Linked DNA regions of Homo sapiens: all the other regions are linked to region 2. The links are contacts of gene promoters, found by promoter capture Hi-C in human tissues and cell types (Jung and others, 2019). All regions are on one chromosome and are shown on one strand. The core of a region is centred on a gene start or on the middle of the fragment in contact, and the rest is flanking DNA. Distances in the headings are between cores, read along the strand shown.

The links. Contacts are between HindIII fragments. The study calls those that stand out against the background at their distance.
Region 1: a fragment that was not itself captured here is called in contact with the fragment with the promoter of TP53INP2 in region 2 in 2 of the 25 tissues and cell types used here (dorsolateral prefrontal cortex and lymphoblastoid cells).
Region 3: a contact is called between a fragment that was not itself captured here and the fragment with the promoter of TP53INP2 in region 2, in 2 of the 25 tissues and cell types used here (lymphoblastoid cells and spleen).
Region 4: a fragment that was not itself captured here is called in contact with the fragment with the promoter of TP53INP2 in region 2 in 2 of the 25 tissues and cell types used here (dorsolateral prefrontal cortex and lymphoblastoid cells).

Annotation. Positions count from the first base shown.
Region 1 is chr20:34,437,817-34,440,516 of GRCh38, reverse strand. ITCH (itchy E3 ubiquitin protein ligase) reads right to left here. Exons shown (of 25, transcript NM_031483.7): 8 at 1,886-2,043; 9 at 173-362. Among named protein-coding and RNA genes, the nearest start is that of MIR644A, 27 kb to the left of the region's middle. The HindIII fragment of the contact is 9,574 bases long and covers 1-2,700 here.
Region 2 is chr20:34,703,061-34,705,760 of GRCh38, reverse strand. TP53INP2 (tumor protein p53 inducible nuclear protein 2) reads right to left here and starts at 1,417. Exons shown (of 5, transcript NM_021202.3): 1 at 1,249-1,417; 2 at 287-403. LOC105372599 (a long non-coding RNA gene) reads left to right here and starts at 1,579. Exons shown (of 2, transcript XR_936690.3): 1 at 1,579-1,624; 2 at 1,948-2,102. RefSeq lists a silencer at 1,142-1,621. The HindIII fragment of the contact is 10,895 bases long and covers 1-2,700 here.
Region 3 is chr20:34,372,764-34,375,463 of GRCh38, reverse strand. All of the region lies in intron 2 of ITCH (itchy E3 ubiquitin protein ligase), which reads right to left. Among named protein-coding and RNA genes, the nearest start is that of ITCH, 11 kb to the right of the region's middle. The HindIII fragment of the contact is 5,475 bases long and covers 1-2,700 here.
Region 4 is chr20:34,408,364-34,411,063 of GRCh38, reverse strand. ITCH (itchy E3 ubiquitin protein ligase) reads right to left here. Exons shown (of 25, transcript NM_031483.7): 4 at 2,272-2,413. Among named protein-coding and RNA genes, the nearest start is that of ITCH, 46 kb to the right of the region's middle. The HindIII fragment of the contact is 5,070 bases long and covers 1-2,700 here.

The DNA of each region.
Region 1 (2,700 bases), core at 201-2,700, 270 kb after region 2:
CCACTGCACTCCAGTCTGGGAGACAGAGCACTCCATCTCAAAAAAAAAAGAAATTAAAAAACAGTCATCAAAACAATGGAGTTTACTGTTGTTTACTGTTATTTTCCTTATTAATAAGTAGGCTTATGAAGAATCCTAAAGACAACATATGTTAATTTAAAAAGTTACTCACCCAGGTGGCAAGGGAGCTTGAGTTACAGGATTTAATGGCCTAGGGCCTGAGCCTCCAGATATAGTAAGAGGAATTATTAATCCAGATGTTGCTCCTTCAGATGTATTTGTATTTGTATTTGTCGGCGGCAGAGAGCCTGTACTAGACCCATCACTTTCAGAAGTGGCAGATGGTGAACCATTGACAGATGCTATAAAAGATTTGGGGAAAATAGGAAAAGAATCTTTCATTTTCTAAAATTCAGGATAGAATTTTAACTGTAAAAAATAAAAGGCAGATGATAAATATAAAACTTAAGATGTAGATGCACAGGTGAAAATTACTTAAAGAAATAAGTAATGGGAAATAACCAACGCTGCCAGTTAATAGGCTTGTTTACTTTTTCGGTCCTGTCTACCCCTATGTCCCATTACTAATCACGAAGCATGTACAGGTTCTCTGATCTTCTGATGTCACTGGAAATAAAAACTTTTAGAATAGGAAATTATTAATATTCCTTGGTATTTTAAGTTCATTTATTAATTTTCCAGCTCCTTAAAACTGCTTTCCTGTGAAACCGTGCAGATTACAGACCAATTTTTGATGTTGGTTATAATATGGAAGGTCTGATAAGAAATAACATTCTTACAGATAGTTAGTAGTCATACATTACACCTTTAAGAAATACTTGTGGACAAAACAATGTCTAGAGGAAGTCACCAAGATTATAATAAAGACATCTTAAAGACTCAGAATATACAATTAATCAAATTATCTATAAAAGGGGAAGATGTGGCTGCAGTGGCTTACGCCCGTAACTCCCACACTTTGGGAGGCCGAGGCAGAAGGATCACTTTCAGCTCAGGAGCTCCAGACCAGCCTGCGCAACATGGCAAAACTCCATCTCTACAAAAAATATAAATATTTAGCCAGGCATTGGTGGCTCATGACTGTGGTACCAGCTACTCGGGAGGCTGAGGCTAGACAATCACTTGAGCCTGGGAAGTAGAGGTGGCAGTGAGCTGAGATGTCACCACATTCCAGTCTGGGTGACAGAGTGAGACCCTGTCTCAAAAAATAAAAAAATAAAAAGGAGAAGATGTATAATTGAATAGAAATTCACTTAAAATTATTTGCAGAGAACTAATGTACTTTTCTAGTAATATTTGGTTTAACTACACTGCATTCCCTGCCCACATATTAGCAGAGAGAAACAATAAAAGGTAAGATTAAAGATTTGTTCTGGCTATCAGAGAAGTGGATAGTCTTATAGGTGTTCACATTTTTACTACCTAAAATATGCTTGTTTGTTGTGTACTTTTTATTTAAAATCTGGGTCATTTAGCATTGTTGGGTTTTCGTTTACTAACTTTTTAAAGGATATACTAGGAATAAGCAACCAAATCCTTGAGTATTTAATACATTTATGTTATAGTTACAAACCATTTAAGAAAGGTACAATGTTATTGCCATGTTATCTGCACCGCCTATACTTTATATTACGCACATGTCATTTTCATTCTCAGTAGAGCACTGCCTCAGTAACGTCACCTTGAACAAAAACTTAGGAAAAAGGCACTTTTGGTTACCTACAGAAAGATCATTCTTTTCCAAAATCTTAAATGTAAAAATACACGCAGAAAATTCACCTAAAAGAATTTCCTGACACTTACCTGAGGATTAATTGCCAACCAGGACATTATTTCCAAGAGTATTGAGAGCTGGAATACAAACCTGGTCTACGTGGGGTGGGTGGTGGTGGTCGTGAAGGTCTTGGAGGTCTAGAAGGTTTAAAACCACCATTTGAGAGTGATGGAGAATTATTCCCACTGACTCTCCTATTTTCACCAGCTCCTGCATCTTCAGGGTCATCTGATCCATTTGTGCTCACTCTGGGTAAGAAGAGGGGAAAAGGAAGGGGGAGAGGGAAATAATGAATACTCCTTGAATTTAAGAAAAAAAACAGCAGGAGGATGAAAACTTCTAAGTTTTTAAGAGCTTCAAAAAAGCTTTTTAATTTCTGGTCAGCCTTATTAAATACATAAAGAGCCTTTGGGTAGAATCCTATATAACCCCCAGAGTTCATCTAGAGATAGAGTGATGGGTTGTCCAAGGGCATAGGAACACTTGTGGCCATTCAGAACTATTAGGTATGCTGGTTCATATTTCAAATAAGCCTTCAGAAGGCCCTATATGAACAGGAACAAAGTCAAGTTCTCAAAATCCTTAGGGCACTATTTTATCACAAGCACAGATAACTTTACCATTGTTGTTTCTTGATTTCCACTGGCTATTAATTCAAGTTTGAGGCAGGTCTGGTTTTCCCATGCTAGGAGAACAAAGTGCACGTATTTCCCAGGGACTAGGCCCTGATATCCCCCAGCTCAGTACAATGGTACACAAAATGTTCAAAGCTAGTGATTTAGAGTAGAAGTAACCACAGACTTTTTTTAAAGGAGCTGTCATTTCTTCAAAGCAATGACATCAACTGGAGGGATAGAAAGGAGGGAAGAACACTAACAGGAAATGTCAGACTGAAAGCTACTGCT
Region 2 (2,700 bases), core at 168-2,667:
TGAGCAAACTCCCAGCAGGAATGGAGTTCCTGGTTCAGCCTCTAGGCCCATCCACTTGTTAAGTCAGAAACTCTCCTTATCCTATCCCTTCTCCTATACTCTCTGTGGGCAGAGGTGACGAGGGAGCAGCAAAACACCTGCAATTGTCTGCACTAGGCCAGGTCAGGCCCTTCCTAGCTGACGACCTAGGAAGTTGGGAAGGTAAAGGGCCAATAGAGGGAACCCTCACCCCACCCTCCACCCCAACATCAGCCCTGGAGACACCCCGAGGCAGCCAATGACTCACCTCTCTGTGATCCAAACAGCTGGGAGGCAGCGATTTTATTGGACTCTAGGACTTCAAGGTACAGTGAGGACAGAAGGGGTCAGGACCACAAAAGGTGAACCAATCTCCAGAGATTCCCTGGAAAAGGGTCCAGGAGTAAGGACACCTAGGAGCCTATCAAACCGTGATAAGGCTGAGCCCAAGATCGGGTCCCCAGTGGAAGGAGGATGTGTATCTTACCACTTGTACTGAGCCCCTATTATGTCTTTGCCCCTGGCTAATAATCCATCTGTCACTCAGTGAGCATGACTCTAATTGGTTATGTGACCTCGAGAGAGCTAATCCTCCTCTCTGGGCCTGTTGCCCCTTCCATGCACTGGGGTCTAAGACCCTTCATTTTGGGTCTAGGAGTGACATCAGCTAAGGCGCTGCACACAAATCAGGGATTAGGAGGATGTTATTCTGTTAGTCCCTGGGGGCGGAGTCTGGAGCCGGAGGGAGGGGATCCCACCACCATCTGGTGCTGTCCCAACCACCTGGAGTCCCATGCAGCCCTGAACTCCTGACGACCCCCTCAACCTAGGCCCAGCAGCGCCGTCTGACTCCTTCTCAGGTTGCAAAGAGAAAGTAGGGGATCAGAGGCCTGACCCCAGCCCCTGGATAAGCCTAGGAAATCGCCGATCCCCCTGCAGCCCCCTTTGGATTGCAGCGTCTCACCCAGGGCCCAGCCCCGACACAGCGGCTACCGGGTCACGGGAGGACAAGCGACCCGAGCCTGTGGGGGCGGTACCGGCCTTGGTGACGTCTCAATGTCATATGCAAATAGAACGACGTCATGGTCTACCGGGCGTGCGGCAACCAATCGGGAGCCGGGAACGCGGCCCCGGCGGCCGCCGGCGGAGACAGACAAAGGCCCGGGCGCGGGGGGCGCAGGGCGTGTCCGTGGCAGGGGAGCCCCCAGGCCCACCCGGGTCGGGACTCACCTGGGGGCGGGAGGGGGGCGGCACGGCGTTGAGGTAGTTGTGCGGCGGGGCGTCCCAGGGTCGCCGGCCGCTCACAGGCCGGGCCGCATCGCCGGGACTCGCGGGGGAGGCGGCGGGGCCGCGGTCGCTCCGGGCTGCTGAGCTCGCCCGCGGGGCTTTGAGTCTGTGCGGCCGCTGCGGCGGGGCTCACGGCACAAATTGGAACGTTCAAACAGCTGATTGTGACGTCACAAAGGGGCCCGCCCGCCTCGCGTCACCGGCTGGCGGGGCGGCGGCCAATCCCGGGCTGCGGATCCCCCCCTGCCCCTCCCCTCCCCTCCCCTCCCGGTTTGCGGGCCGGGCGCTCGGGCCGGGAAACGTTCTCGGAACCGGGAGGGTGAGTGTTCGGGGAGGCAGCTGCGGGGAGCTGGGAGCCCTGCGCCGCGGCGAGCTCTCCGCGAGGAGGATCTCCACTCCCTCCTACCGGCTCCTTATTTTCCTGATTCTTCCCGGATCGCAGCGCCCTCACCTCTCCCACTGCTCCCCAAATCCTTTCACTGCATCCTATATCCAAGTCCCCCGATGCGGACCCTGTTCTCGACCCACACCACGTCCGTGCACCTGCATTCTCCCCACTGCCCTTATTCCTGCTCTCCCTCCCCCCTCTGGCTCACCTCCTCAGCCTTACACACTCTGCTTTCCCACCCCGTTTTTCCTCAGCTCGGCGGGCTTGAGAAAAGAGGGACATCCCCAACCCCCGGTTCCCGGGGAGCATCTGGGAATGTAGAGAAGTTAGTGAAGCTGACGTGAAATTTCGCAGAGTAGGACTTGGAGAGGAATTGCCCTGGGCTGAGTAAACATTGACCTGAGACGGCTCCGCGCTTGAACGTTTACATACCTTATTTAATCTATGTTGCTACCGGGGCTGTAAAGAAGTGGCAGGACAGGGACTGATTATGAGTCCTGATTTACACGTGGGAAAGCTGAGTCTCACAATCTCACTGTTAGCGTGTGAACTCATGTTCAACAATGCATTCAACATTTATTAGGCACCTACTATTGCACCACCATACCACTAGCTGACATGTATTGGCACACTTACTGTGTGCCACGACCTGTGCTATGGGTGTGTTTTTTTATCTTCACAACAACCCAAAAGGTAGATATTGTCCCGTTTAACAGTTGAGGAAACAGACTCAGAGAGCTCAAGTGACTTTCTTAGGTCACAAAAGTACAGTCAATGGCAGAGCCAGGATTTGAACCCATAGCTCCCAGCCCTGACCCTCTCCATTCTCTACATGAACCAGATGGTCTAAACCTCAGGGCGCTTTAGCCTCCCCAGAGTCCTGGCTTTCAGTCCTGACTGTGCCCTAGACTTGCTGTGTGACCTCAAGTCATGTTACCTCTCTGGGTCTCAGTTTGTCAAACAAACATATCCAGGCTTCCCTCTAGAGCTGCCATTGTAAGATTCTT
Region 3 (2,700 bases), core at 72-2,571, 330 kb after region 2:
CATGACCAGCCCATAACATGTTTTAAAATATGTACATGTTGTGGAATGGCTAAATCGAGCTAAATAACATATACATAACCTCACATACTTACTTTTACCTCCATTAAAAAAAAAAAAAAAAAAGGCCAGGTGCGGTGGCTCACGCCTGTAATCTCAGCATTTTGGGAGGCCGAGGCAGGCGGATCACCTGAGGTCGGAAGTTCCAGACCAGCCTGACCAACATGGAGAAACCTCGTCTCTGCTAAAAATACAAAATTAGCCAGGCGTGGTGGCACACACCTGTAAACCCAGCTACTTGGGAGGCTGAGGCAGGAGAATTGCTTGAACCCGGAAAGCGGAGGTTATGGTAAGCCAAGATTGCGCCATTGCACTCCAGCTGGGGCAACAAGAGCGAGATTCTGTCTCAAAAAAAAAAAAAAATCACGCCAGGCGTGGTGGCTGACACCTGTAATCCCAGCACTTTGGGAGGCCGAGGCGGGTGGATCACCTGAGGTCAGGAGTTCAACACCAGCCTGGCCAAAATGATGAAACCCTATCTCTACTAAAAATACAAAAAATTAGCCAGGCGTGGTGGAGAGCACCTGTAATTCCAGCTACTTGGGAGGCTGAGGCAGGAGAATTGCTTGAACCCGGGAGGCAGAGGTTGAGGTTGCAGTGAGCCAAGATCATGCCACTGCACTCCAGCCTGGGCAACAAAAGTGAAACTCTGTCTCAAAAAAAAAAAAAAAAAATTGTAAGCCAAAGCTGCTTTAACAGCTGCTCCCTTGGAGGGGAATGAATTCCCTAGTTCACTTAAAGTCCCAGTCTGATCTGTCATTACTTACTAAATGTTCATCCAGCCCTTGCAGGCATTTAAATTTACAATGCTCAGCCTAAATAGGTTTACTGAATGATTTATGAACTCAGATCATAACTTTAAGAAAGATAAGGTTGATGGTAATGATGATAATGAAAACAACGACTAACACTTCACACTGTGAGCCAAGTCTTGTTCAAGCAGAAACACATAATACCTATGTATATATGCTATTACTATTCCCAATTTACAGATGAGAAAACTAAGGCAAAAAGAAGTTAGGCAAGTTGGCCAAGATCATACCACCACTACACAGTAGAGTCAAAATTCAAAATCAACCTAACTCCAGTAAATACTGTTAACTCCTACAATATAATCCTTTAGACTAAAATCCTTTCCTTTGTGACCAACTAAATTTGATTATTTGGAAAAATAATCAAGACAAAATTGTAGAACCTACTCTTTCTTTGCACGAATGAAGGCCTAACAAGCAAATCAAAGTTCACCTAAATGCAGATGGTTATTTCTGGAGCTTATCTTGTCTTAAAAAAATAAAAAATAAAAAGTCCATCCTGGCCAACATGGTGAAACCTCGTCTCTACTAAAATACAAAAAATTAGCCAGGCGTGGTGGTGGGCACCTGTAGTCCCAGCTACATGGGAGGCTGAGGCAGGGGAATCGCTTTAACCTGGGAGACGGAGATTACAGTCAGCCAAGACTGTGCCACTGCACTCCAGCCTGGCGACAAAGCAAGACTGCATCTTAAAAAAAAATAAAAAAAAAAAATGTTCTCTTGTAACTGACAAAGAAAAGGTTGCAGAATCCAGTAAAATAATAAACATTTTCTCAGAAAGCAAGCAAGTTAGTAGATATTTCTGGAGTGAGTTAAGCTCAATATGTAGATGAATTCTTAACCTGTAAGTGACGACATAGTATTAAAATTCTTCTCTTTTCTGGGACAGAAGGATAGATCTATTAGGGTAAGCAATTTCCAGACATGGAAAAAAAAAATGCGAGTTGCTGGAGGGCAGAGATTGCTTTTTCACCATAAGTCCCTGCAATGTCTAGCATACAGCAGCACTTAAAATACATTCAATTATGTTAGGCCGAATGCCTATAATTCCAGCACTTTGGGAGGCCAAGGCAGGCGGATCACCTGAAGTCAGGAGTTTGAGACCAGCCTGGCCAATATGGTGAAACCCCATCTCTAGTAAAAATATAAAAATTAGCTGGCCATGGTGGCAGGGACCTGTAATCCCAGCTACCCAGGAGGCTGAGGCAGGAGAATGGCTTGAACCCAGGAAACGGAGGTTGCAGTGAGCCAAGATTACACCACTGCACTCCAGCCTGGGCGAGAACAAGACTCTGCCTCAAAAAAAAAAAAAAAATACATTTGGCCAGGTGCAGTGGCTTATGCCTGTAATCCAGAACTTTGGGAGGTCGAGGCAGGTGGATTATTTGAGGTCAGGAGTTCAAGATCAGCCTCACCAACACAGTGAAACCCTATCTCTAGTAAAAATACAAAATTAGCTGGGCGTGGTGGCACATGCCTATAATCCCAGCTACTTGGGAGACTCAGGCAGGAGAATCGCTTGAACCCAGTGGGTGGAGGCTGCAGTAAGCTGAGATTGCACCATTGCACTCCAGCCTCGGCAACAAGAGAAAAACTCCGTCTCAAAAAAAAAAAAAAAAGGAATACATTCAATCATGTTAAAGGAACCAAAAAATCTGAACTTAATTTCTTAAATTGCAATGCAATGAAACTCTTGTAACATTTACCAACTTCCTTTTTATAATAATCAATCACTGGCAAGGAAGTCTGTTTTCCTGACAAAATCCTTAAACCAGGAGTTTTATATTTGAGTACCCCTTGGAACCTAGCACAATAGCAGCTCAACAGATCC
Region 4 (2,700 bases), core at 55-2,554, 290 kb after region 2:
GATGATCAGTCTTGTTTCAATTCAATTCTCAAAAGCAGTCTGGAAAGCCTGCTACACGACAATGGGAAGTGATAAAATTCCAGGCCAATTTGCTGCAACTTAAAAATTCAGGAAAATAACTTGAATTGTAAGTTTCCCAAATGTTTGTAATCAAGAACAGCACTACCACATAGAACTACAAAGAGAGTTTTTTTCTTAACTTTTAAATCACTAAGAAGTTCATGACATTAACAGCTTAAGAGCCTCCAAGTGCATATCAAGTACGCACTCAAAGCAGTTGGAGGAAATTAGGTGACCATCTAATTCAACTGAACATCTCTGGTAATCATGGAGGCTGCGACCTTTTATAGATACCACTTGGTAAAGGAAAAAATATATATGAGATGGGAACTCGCTACTTTGCCCTGGTTAATCTCGAACTCCTCCTGGGCTAAAGCACCTTATCCTCCCCCCTTATCCTCCCAAGTAGCTGGGATTGCAAACATGTGCAGTCATTCCCAGCCTCATGTGTTTTCTTGAAATTTTTTTAATACATTGTTTCATTTTGACTCAATCTACAATGAGCCATTAATTAAAAACAGAAAGCCTAAGAAACATTTATGTTGAAATAAACACAGATGAGGAACATCCGAATGATACGGGCCTCAAGATGATCTTCCATAAATTCTTTTTTTTTTTTCTCTCTTTTTTGAGACAGAGTTTCACTTGTCACCCTGGCTGGAACGCAATGGCACGATCTCAGTTCACTGCAACCTGCAACCTCCGCCTACCAGGTTCAACCAATTCTCCTGTCTCAGCCTCCCGAGTAGCTGGGATTACAGGCACCCACCACCACACCCAGCTAATTTTTGTATTTTTAGTAGAGATGGGGTTTCACCACGTTGGTCAGGCTGGTCTCGAACTCCTGACCTCAGGTGATCCTCCTACCTTGGCCTCCCAAACTGCTGGGATTACAGGAGTGAGCCACCATGCCTGGCCAAATCATTCTTTTTCTTCTTTTTTTTTTTTGTTTGTCTTTTTGTAGAGACAGGGTCTCGCTACATTGCCCAGGCTAGAGTTCAGTAGCAATTCACAGGAGCAATCATATCAAACTGCACCTTTGAACTCCTGGCCTCACACAATCCTCCTGGCTCAGTCTCCCAAAGAGTTGAGATTACAGGTGTGAGCCACCACACCTGGCTCCATGTGTTTTCTTCTATTTTAATTTTAAAAATTAAAATTAACCTTCAATGGCTGTCAATATCTTAGATTATAATGCCAACATTTAGGGCTTTGTGTTAAAACTGAGCTATATCCTACTTCTATGAATCTACACTACAGATATAAACACCAACATACAAAGATATATGCACATGGATGTATCTGCAATACTGCCTAATAGCGCAACATTAGAATCAATACAGAACTATTAAAATATAGTCCACCCATATTAAGGAATATTACAAAGCTATATAAGGGATGCAAGATCCATATGTACTCAGGTAAAGAGATCACCATGATATTAGTGTTAAGTACAAAAAGAAAGTTGTAGAATAAAATGTATAGTAGTAGTCCTAGCTACTTGAGAAAAAGGCTGAGATGGGAAGACTGCTTGAGCCGGGAAGGTTGAGAGAGAGCACTCTGGACAACATAGCAAGACCCCATCTCATTCAAAAAATAAATAACTATAGTATAACTGGCACCGTAATTTAAAATACTAAAAAACTGGCCAGGCACAGTGATGCATGCCTGTGGTCCCAGCTACTTGGGAGGCTGAGGCAGGAGGATCTCTTGAGGCCAGGAGTTCAAGGCTGCTGTGAGCTATGATAGTGCCACTATACTCCAGCTTGGGTGACAGGGTGAGGCTCTATCTCAAAATAAAACAAAGAAAAAACTAACTAAAACACTATTTTTAAAAATTAAGTTAAAAACCGGGGGGGGGGGGAGTACTCATAATCCCTTAATTCAACCCAAAGTTAATAAAAAGTGCTGCCAGAAATCTTTTTAGGTCCGTGACCATGGGCTCTCTTCAGCTATTGTTCAGTGACAAGAGCAATATCATCACCAACTAAACTAGAGAAGGTAAAGAAAGGGAGTGACTATAAAAACAGCTATCTAAAGAGAAACAAAAAAGCAAACCAGAAGGAGTCCTAGGAAAAAGAAAAAAAAAAAAAGAAGAGAGAAAGGAGGAACAACAACAACAAAAAACCAAAGTGAGAAACATTTTTTTAAATTGTATTTCCAATCATCTACTAAACAAAACATACTACAGAAAAATACTTCCAAGCTTACACTGTAAGGGGTTGCTTCCACTTGGGACTGTTTGTGTTGTTGCATTTTTCTGTCTTCTTTGACTGTCCATCTACTGTGACCTCTACGTAAGGACTTGGTCCAAACCAATTCTTCTTATTTTCCTTAAGTTTTGCTGAGATGACTATGTAAAAGAAATGAAAAACATTTCAATAGTTGAGATGTTAATTCACTCATGAAATCAATTTAACTTCATAATTAGGCAGATTTACTAAATTTACTCAGAGAAGCAGTTTTGCTCTAAAATACTTACCAATTTTATTCACTCATAACCTTTGTACTTCCTCCCATCCTAGTAAATAAATATAGAGGTTCCCCGTACCATCAACCCAAATTCCCATCAGTAGAATTCCATGGTATCAAAAGTCCAGAACTCAGATCAATTAAAAAGTACACATATGGGCCAGGTGC